Linked DNA regions of Homo sapiens: region 2 is linked to region 1. The links are contacts of gene promoters, found by promoter capture Hi-C in blood cells and fetal thymus (Javierre and others, 2016). All regions are on one chromosome and are shown on one strand. Each heading gives the region's core, a stretch centred on a gene start or on the middle of the fragment in contact. The rest is flanking DNA. Distances are from core to core; before and after follow the strand shown.

The links. The method cuts DNA at HindIII sites, captures the fragments that hold promoters and counts their contacts. A CHiCAGO score of 5 or more calls a contact.
Region 2: a contact is called between the fragment with the promoter of SPINT4 here and the fragment with the promoter of WFDC8 in region 1, in 4 of 17 cell types (M2 macrophages, M1 macrophages, M0 macrophages and 1 more). The highest score is 6.6, in M2 macrophages.

What each region holds. Positions count from the first base shown.
Region 1 is chr20:45,576,990-45,581,584 of GRCh38, reverse strand. WFDC8 (WAP four-disulfide core domain 8) reads left to right here and starts at 2,301. Exons shown (of 6, transcript NM_130896.3): 1 at 2,301-2,363. The coding sequence starts at 2,338. RefSeq lists an enhancer at 2,551-3,486. The HindIII fragment of the contact is 6,723 bases long and covers 1-4,262 here.
Region 2 is chr20:45,719,843-45,724,058 of GRCh38, reverse strand. SPINT4 (serine peptidase inhibitor, Kunitz type 4) reads right to left here and starts at 1,712. Exons shown (of 3, transcript NM_178455.3): 1 at 1,577-1,712; 2 at 2-179. The coding sequence starts at 1,691. The HindIII fragment of the contact is 5,556 bases long and covers 51-4,216 here.

The sequences.
Region 1 (4,595 bases), core at 1,052-3,551:
AGCACTTTGGGAGGCAGAGGTGGGTGGATCACGAGGCCAGGAGTTCGAGACCGGCCTGACCAACATGGTGAAACCCCATCTCTACTAAAAATACAAAAAAATTAGCCAGGCGTGGTGGTGCGTGTCTGTAATCCCAGCTATTCAGGAGGCTGAGGCAGGAGAATCACTTGAACCCGGGAGAAGGAGGTTGCAGTGAGTTGAGATAGTGCCACTGCACTCCAGCCTGGGGAACAGAGCGAGACTCCATCTCAAAAAAAAAAAAAAAGACTATTCTGAGAATTTGTAACTGCAACCTTGTTTCCTTTCATAAGAGCAGAGTAGGAAAATTGGCACATGTGCATGGTCTGATAAATCTAAAGCTATGAATTTAATTCAAAATTGCATGAGTTGTTAGGGAAAAATTGAGGACAAGTTGATTCGGAAGAATTCTCCTTTAAACACAGGAATCCAAGAAATTCCACAAAGTATTGTTACATACATAAACTTCCATTAAATATGTACTCTCACAATAAAAAAAATCACACAGATCTTAAGAAAACAAGATGAAAAAAATCAAGAAAAACAACCAACAGCAGAGGTCCACAAAGACTTCAGATATTGGAGTTACTGTATTGTATTGTAGCGAGTTATTGTATTGTAGGAAAGGAACATAGAAAAAGGATTCCTGATTCTGTCTTTGGGGTAGGAAGGGCACGTGATAAAAACTTTCATTCAAAAGGTAAAAGACAAGCCAATAAGGGTTTTAGAAGATTACCCTTGATCCTGGAAGATGTTCATAATACATATAACTGAGGAAAGACATGACTCCAGTAGAAATCAGCAAGAAAAAGTCAGAAAACCCCAGAGAACAATGAGCAAAACATTTGAAAAGAAAATCAAAGAGAGGATAGCCAAGTGGTTAATAAAGATCTAAAAAGGTGCTCAACCTCATTAGTAGTCAAGAAATTTAAATTAAGTCCACAGTGATGTATTTCCATACTCGTAGCAGGATGGTAAAAATGAAAAGATTGTGACAGTTCTACATACAGCATGGTTATGGAACAATAGGAACTCTCAACTACCAATGGCAAGGCTGTGAATTGGTACAAACTCTTTGGGAAATAATTTGGTATCAGCTTGAGAAGCTGAAGATATGCATACCCTGTAACCCATCATTCCCTATGCTGAATGTATAACCTACAAGAACACCTGCCCACGTGCTCCAGCAAATGCACACAGAGTGTTCATAGCAGCTTTATTCTTTTTTTTACATGAGTAAATTGTTTAAAATTTTTTTGACATTTAAAAACATTTATTAATTCATTTAACGTAATAAACTTATTACATGTTGATATAAATAACATTTTTATTTAGAAAATCCTAGTTTTTTATTATACTTTAAGTTCTGGGATACACGTGCAGAACGTTATTACATACATGCTATGTATACACACAGCAGCTTTATTCTTAACAGCTGCAAACTATAAACAACTCAGTAGAGATGTGTGTAGTCATACAATAGATGGCATGGCAATGAAAATTGACAAAATACAGCTACACAAAACAATGTGGATGGAATTCATTAATATAATGTTGAACACAAAAAGCCAGGCACAAAAGAATACATTCCAAGTGACTCCATTGATATAGAACAGAAGCAGACAAAAACAAAAACATATTTAGGGGAATACATATGATCTTGAAAATATGAAAAAGAAAGTCACTACCATTAGCTGCCTTTGAGAGCATAGGAAGGGGTTGTGACTGGAAAAGAATGAAAAAGGAGCAGAAAGTGTTGGAAATTTTTTACTTGATTTCAGTGATAGTTTAATGAGTGGTCACTTCGTAATAGTTCGTTAGACTGAACATTAATGTTTCATGCATATTTTTATTTTTGTGGTGTTTTTCACAATACATATTTTTACAAAAAGGAAAAGTAGCTCTTCCTTGTTTTGTCTCCTTTTCTTTACTAACTGAACTAGTCAGTCCTAAAGCCATTAGATAGGCACATTTAGCAAGGTAGGCGTTTGCCCCAAGGGGAAGGGAGCCACGGCTGGCTCCGTGTGGGCATCAGAGCTGGAACAGGTCAAGGAGGGTGTCTCTGTAGGAGGGCTGCTGGCCTGGTGTGCTGGAGCCAGGGGTAGATGAGAATGCCCAGTGAAGAGGCAAGAAGCAGCATAGCATGGAGACCAGCCTGCCCATGTTGAGAAAGGCATCCCCCTGGGGCTAGAGGGGCAGACTGGCATAGAATGAGAGCCTGAGTGGGGTGAGCAGAGTGTCCAGGCAGGGGAGCAGATGAGGGAGGAGCCTTAGAGCTGGAGCAAAGTGAGGAAGCTGTCTCCATAGGGAAGAGGCCTGATGTGGACTGTCCGAACTGAAGGAGGGTGAGGAGGGTGTCTATGGGGGTGGGTAGCCAGACATGGAGGGTCTGAGCCCAAGGAGATGAGGAGGATACATAGAAGTTAGAGTGGTCGGCTGTGGGGAGTTGGGCCAAGCATAGTGAGGAGGGGTTCCACAGAACAGAGCTGTCTTGTGTCAGGAATCAGAGCCTAAGCAGGGTGAAGAGGGCATCAATGCATCCAGCGATTCTCCTGCCTTAGCCTCCCTAGTAGCTGGGACTACAGGTGTGCGCCACCACGCTCGGCTAAGTTTTGCATTTTTAGTAGAGACGGGGTTTCACCATGTTGGCCAGGCTGGTCTCGAATGCAACCTGATATGGCTGTTGGAGCCCAAGTAGGGTAAGTTGGGCATCTTTGAGTGGCCCAGTGTGGAGGGGCAGAGCCTGAGCAAGGTAAAGTTTGATATTTTAAATTAAACAAGCATATAATATGTATCTAAACATTTTCAAAAAATTAAAACAGGAGTAGTAGTGATGGGTTATATTATTATTCACAACTATTCATTCCATCTTTCCTTTAAGAGGACACTCCTGTCCATTACCTTGCAATTTTAGAACGGCCCGTGGAAGGAAGACACATTTCTGTCTCATTGACTTTGGGTTTGCTGTCAGCTGTGCTTTGCCTATTGGAGTATGAGCAGATGTAGCATATGCATAGTGAGTTTTGCACTGTGAGTTTCTGCCAGCTCCTTTGTGCTTTCTCTCTGCCAGGAGAAGGGGCCTAATCCACATAGAGGCTGCTTCTTTTGTCTTGGTCCCACAGCCTCAAGTAGAGCCCCCACTTGGAACAAAGCAGTAGACAATTTGCCTAGGAAGTCTTTTGTTGTGGCAAGCCATGGAGAGCTCAAAGTTCTTTGTACACCAAAGTAATAAAAATACAGTTGATTCCCATTACTTGGGGGTAGTTATGTTCTGTAAAGTCACTGTGAACACCGGATTAGCAAATACTGAGCCATTGCTCCTAGGGAAAATGCAAGCCTCTGACCACACATTTTCATCATTTGATCAATACATAACCTTGTTTTTATATGTGCTTCTGTCTGAAGACACATGACAGAGATGGTAATTAGAAGGTGCACACAGAAGACTTCTGGGAAGCTGGCTACTTTCTATTTTTTAATCTGTGTGGTTAATTATTAAATAAAACTCTACATACTTTATTTATTTATTTATTTTTATTTTTATTTTTTTTGTTTTGTTTGAGAGGGAATCTCTCTCTGTCCCCCAGGCTGGAGCATAGTGGTGTGATCTCGGCTCTCTGCAACCTCCACCTTCTGGGTTCAAGGGATCCTCCTGCCTTAGCCTCCTGAGTAGCTGGGACTACAGGTGTGCACCACCACTCCAGGCTAATTTTTGTATTTTTAGTAGAGACAGGGTTTCACCGTGTTGGCCAGGCTAGTCTTGAACTCCTGACCACAGGTGATCTGCCTGCCTCAGCCTCCCAAAGTGCTGGGATTACAGGCATGAGCCACCGTGCTGGCCCTGTCTTTATTTTTTAAACATGTATATAGGCCAGGCGCGGTGGCTCATGCCTGTAATCCCAGCACTTTGGGAGGCTGAGGCAGGCGGATCACTAGGTCAGGAGATTGAGACCATCCTGGCCAACACAGTGAAACCTCATCTCTACTAAAAATACAAAAAATTAGCAGGACGTGGTGGTGGGTGCCTGTAATCCCAGCTACTCGGGAGTCTGAGGCAGGAGAATCACTTGAACCCAGAAGGCGGAGGTTGCAGCGAGCCGAGATCGCACTACTGTACTCTAGCCTGGCGACAGAGTGAGACTCCATCTCAAAAAAAAAAAAAGACACCTTATGTAATATATATTATTGTTTCATTAACATTGAATTGTGGCTGAAAGCCCTGTAACTCATGCCTGAACCAAGCTTATCTGACACAAGTAATTTCTTTGTAAGGCACATTGCAGGCCTCTTGCTCTTAGGACACTTGACAGCACTTTAGTAATTCTTGGCAGCCATTTTAAACAGCAAACTCACCAACAAAAAGCACAAAAATGTGAAAAATGTGACACTAAGTAGACTGCAAAAAGGAAGCTTGTTTATAGTAGTAGAAGAGCTTAAACAAGCAGAGCGTTGCCTTGTTTGACTTCAGCTGGGAATGTGTACGTTGGGGGACTCAAATTTTTTGCCATTCTGCACATATCCCTGAATGACCACAAAAGCATCATGAGTATTGATTTTTGGGTAATAAATAAATTTCA
Region 2 (4,216 bases), core at 463-2,962, 140 kb before region 1:
CGGTGGTTTGTATTTTGCAACACAGGCTACTTCACGTTCTATTTTAAGCTTGAAGTTGTTAAGGTTGCCATTACAGCCGGAGAAGACAAAAGTTTCACATCTTTTGGAGGTTCTGTTGTAGAAATATCTAAAGTGAACTTCATAGCAGCTTCCAAAATTCATGTCCAATTTGCAGGGATCTGCATGAGAGGTTCCCATTGAGTTAGTGGGAATTGGTAAGGACTCAGCAGGAGAACTTGTCTTTATGGGCCCTTAAAAATTCCTACGTTTAGCCTGGAACTATTCTCATATTCAAGGACTCTGAAAGATGTGGTTTTCTCTTGGAGTTAGAGTTGCTTGGAAATGTTGCCCTTGCACAATGCAAATTGGTTAAAATTCCAGGTTGTTGTCGTGAGCAGTGTATTGGAGAAGGAGAAGTAGTGATCAGTGAAAAAGGAGGTTCCACCACTAGCTTGTGCAGGGCGATGAGCTTCCCTACATTTCCTATCTTACAGTTTATTAAAGTACAGTATCCTCCTGCTTCCCCACATCATCTTCCTTTCCTTTTAATTGCCCACATAGGACATGCAATTCAGAGTGCCTCCTCCCCAGTTTCATACATTCACTATACTACCTATACTTCAAAATTTAAGTAACCATGGCTGCTGCTATCTTTAAAGCAGGATGCATACTAAAATGCTAAAATGCATAACCTTGGGGTGATGCTCGTTCATCCTCATACCCCGTCATCTTCTCCTTTCTTGCCTTCTCAGAGGCAAACCCTCTGTTTTTATTGTTAAGAGTTGGGTAGTAAGTGGTTGGAACAGCCACAATCATGGTTGTATTGACAATCCACCTTACTCAAGCAGCCAGCCTGGAATTTACTCTCTGGTAAAGTTATGTGCATAATCTTATTTCATACTCACAAACACCCTCTGCAGCAGGCACTTTTCTGATCTTCATTTTACACATGGGGAAACTGAGACTAAGAGAATAATAAGTGGTTGAGTGACTTGTCCAAGGGCACATATCTGCTAAGTGAACAGGTCCAGAACTTGAAGTGTCTGACTTACGGTATAAACTGTGCTACTTTCTCGTCCCCTGGAAGCGCTGAGCCTTCACACACTATCTATGGAAGAAAGTCTCATTGCCTCTCACATTTACATTGTGAGCTCCTCTAAACAGGAATCATCTGTCCAAGAGTTCTGTATATGTCCATAGCCCAGATACTGAAAATGTCTTAATTTGCTCTGTCTCCAACCCCCTTTCTCTCTCATCCCAATACATAATCATCAATGGTCTGGGATCTTTGAAATTTGTCACACAACCTCTGATTCAAAATACTTCCAGTCCTTTGGACCTCCTATAAAAGAGGTCTCCATCTGGAAAGGACTTTGTGTCATTTCTGTTTTTTCTCATCAAACATCCAGAGGACCCCTAGTGTAAGTAATGCCCTGAGTCAAGGGACTAAGTGTCTATGGGTATTGTCATGAAAGGAAGACCTTCCTGGACTACCTAGATAACACACTTTTCTCCCAATACCTTCTCTCTCATTCATAATTGACCTTTGGATTTATTTTCTGCCTTAGCTTCATACCTTTGAGGTCTCCACATATCTTCTCCGCAATTTTATTAACACCACCCAATAACAGGGTATTCAATGAGCAGAAGATGAAGAATCTTAGAAGAAATCCCAGCTTGGCAGACTTCATGGTGCAGCAAGCAGCAGGCAGGATAGTTGTGGTATCACCTGATGTTATATTTTGGGCTTGATACTTGAGACGGTTGAGCTCACCTACCCCAAGGGCCAGGACTGGACATTACTAGGTGTTGAGTTGAACAGTGAGTGCTTGGGTACCCAGCCATGAAGCTGAAGGCCCCAAACTGATTAGACCCTTGATAGTGAGTCCCATGTTCATCTAGAAGCAATAGAAACTTAAGGATCAGAGCTTCTGCATATATTTAATCATGAAGGGTAGAATCATCAGAGTGAGGAATTAAAAAGGGATTTCTTCCTTTCTCTTTTTGACCTTTTATGCACAGAAGAAACTAATCATGGCACAAGAGAAAGAGTGCAATAGCACTATAATAATAGTAACAGGGTTAGTTATAACCTAGAGTACTACTTAATTCCAGGTGCTATTTTTAAGTAATTTGTATATACTTTATCATCATATACACCCTATGAAGTAAGTACAGTTATTACCATCATTTAAGGATGAAATGGAGACAGAGATTAGGTTACATGTACAAGGTCACTCATTTATTATGTGGTAGAGACAAGATTTGAACTTGGCTTCAGAGTTTTTGTTCTTAGTCACACTACACTATGTTATCTAGGAACATGAGGACATCTTGGATCTGTTTTCTCCTAAAAGTTTTGAAGTTTTGGCTTACCTTTACACCCTAAAACCACCTGATGTTGATTTTTTGGTAAGGTATAACATAAGGATCCTTTTTCATTTTTCAGTGGTTCCAGACCTATTTATTAATGAGTTCCTCTTCTATTTAACTGCAAAATAATTTTGCTTAATTATGTGGGATTGCTTCTGAGCCCTTTATTTCACTCCACTGTATACCCCCACTCCAAAGCCACACTTAATCTCTTGAACTTTGTTTATCTTAGGATTTTGTATTTTCATATAAATTTTAGTCAGTTTATCAAGTTATTCAAAAGACCTGTTTCGGGCCAGGCGTGGTGGCTCATGCCTGTAATCCCAGCACTTTGGGAGGCTGAGGTGGGTGAATCCCATGAGGTCAGGAGTTGGAGACCAGCCTGGTCAACATGGCAAAACCCCGTCTCTACTAAAAATACAAAAATTAGCTGGTTATGGTGGTGAGTTCCTGTAATCTCAGCTACTTGGGAGGCTGCGGCATGAGAATTGCTTGAACTGGGAGGCAGAGGTTGTAGTGAGCTGAGACTGTGCCATTGCACTCCAGCCTGGGTGACAGAGCAAGACTCTGACCGAAAACGAAAACAAAAACAAAAACAAAAACAAAACACCTATTTTGGATATTCATTTGAATTGCACTGGATCTACAAATCAATTGGAAAAGAATGATATCCTTATAATATTGTCTTTGATATATATATTTCCATCTATTTTGACCTTCATTAATATTTTAAAGAAAGGTTTATGACATTTCTCATGCAGGTGTTACAATCTTATTTATATTTTTAATATTATTGTAAATGCTATCTTTTAAAAAAATCTTCAACTTTTATTTTAATTTCAGCGGTACATGTGCAGGATGTGCAGGTTTGTTACATACATAAACCATGTGTGCCATGGTGATTTGCTGCACAGATCATCCCTACACCTAGGTATTAAGCCCAGCATTCACCAGGTATTCTTCTTGATGTTCTCCCTCTCCCTACCACCCCCATGATATGCTCCAGTGTGTGTTGTTCCACTTATGTGTCCATGTGTTCTCATCATTCAGCTACCACTTGTAAGTGAGAACATGCAGTGTTTGGTTTTCTGCTCCTGTGTTAGTTTGCTGAGGATAACTGCTTCGAGCTCCATCCATATCCCTGCAAAGGACATGATCTCATTTCTTTTTATGGCTGCATAGAATTCCATGGTGTGTGTGTGTATATATATATATTTCAGTATCACATTTTCTTTATCCAGTCTATCATTGATGGGCATTTGGATTGATTCATGTCTTTGCTATTGTGAATAGTGCTGCAATGAACATATGCATGCATGTGTCTTTATAATAGAATGATTTATGTTCCTTTGGGTATATACCCAGTAATGGGATTATTGGGTCAGATGGTATTTCTGCCTCTAGATCTTTGAGGAATCTCCACACTGTTTTCCACAATAGTTGAACTAATTTACACGCCCACTAACAGTGTAAAAGTGTTCCTTTTTCTCTACAACCTCTCCAGCATCTGTGTTTTTTGTTTTTTTTTTTACTTTTTAATAATCACCATTCTGACTGGTATGAGATGGTATCTCATTGTGGTTTTGATTTTCGTTTCTCTAATGATCAGCGATGTTGAGCCTTGTTTCATATGTTTGTTGGCCACATATATGTCTTCTTTTGAGAAGTGCCTGTTCAAGTCCTTTGCCCACTTTTTAATGGGATTGTTTGTTTTTTTCTTATAAATTTGTTTAAGTTTCTTGTAGACTCTGGATACTAGAACTTTGTCAGACGGATAGATTGCAAAAATATACTCCATTTCTGTAGGTTGTCTGTTCACTCTGATGATAGTTTCTTTTGCTGT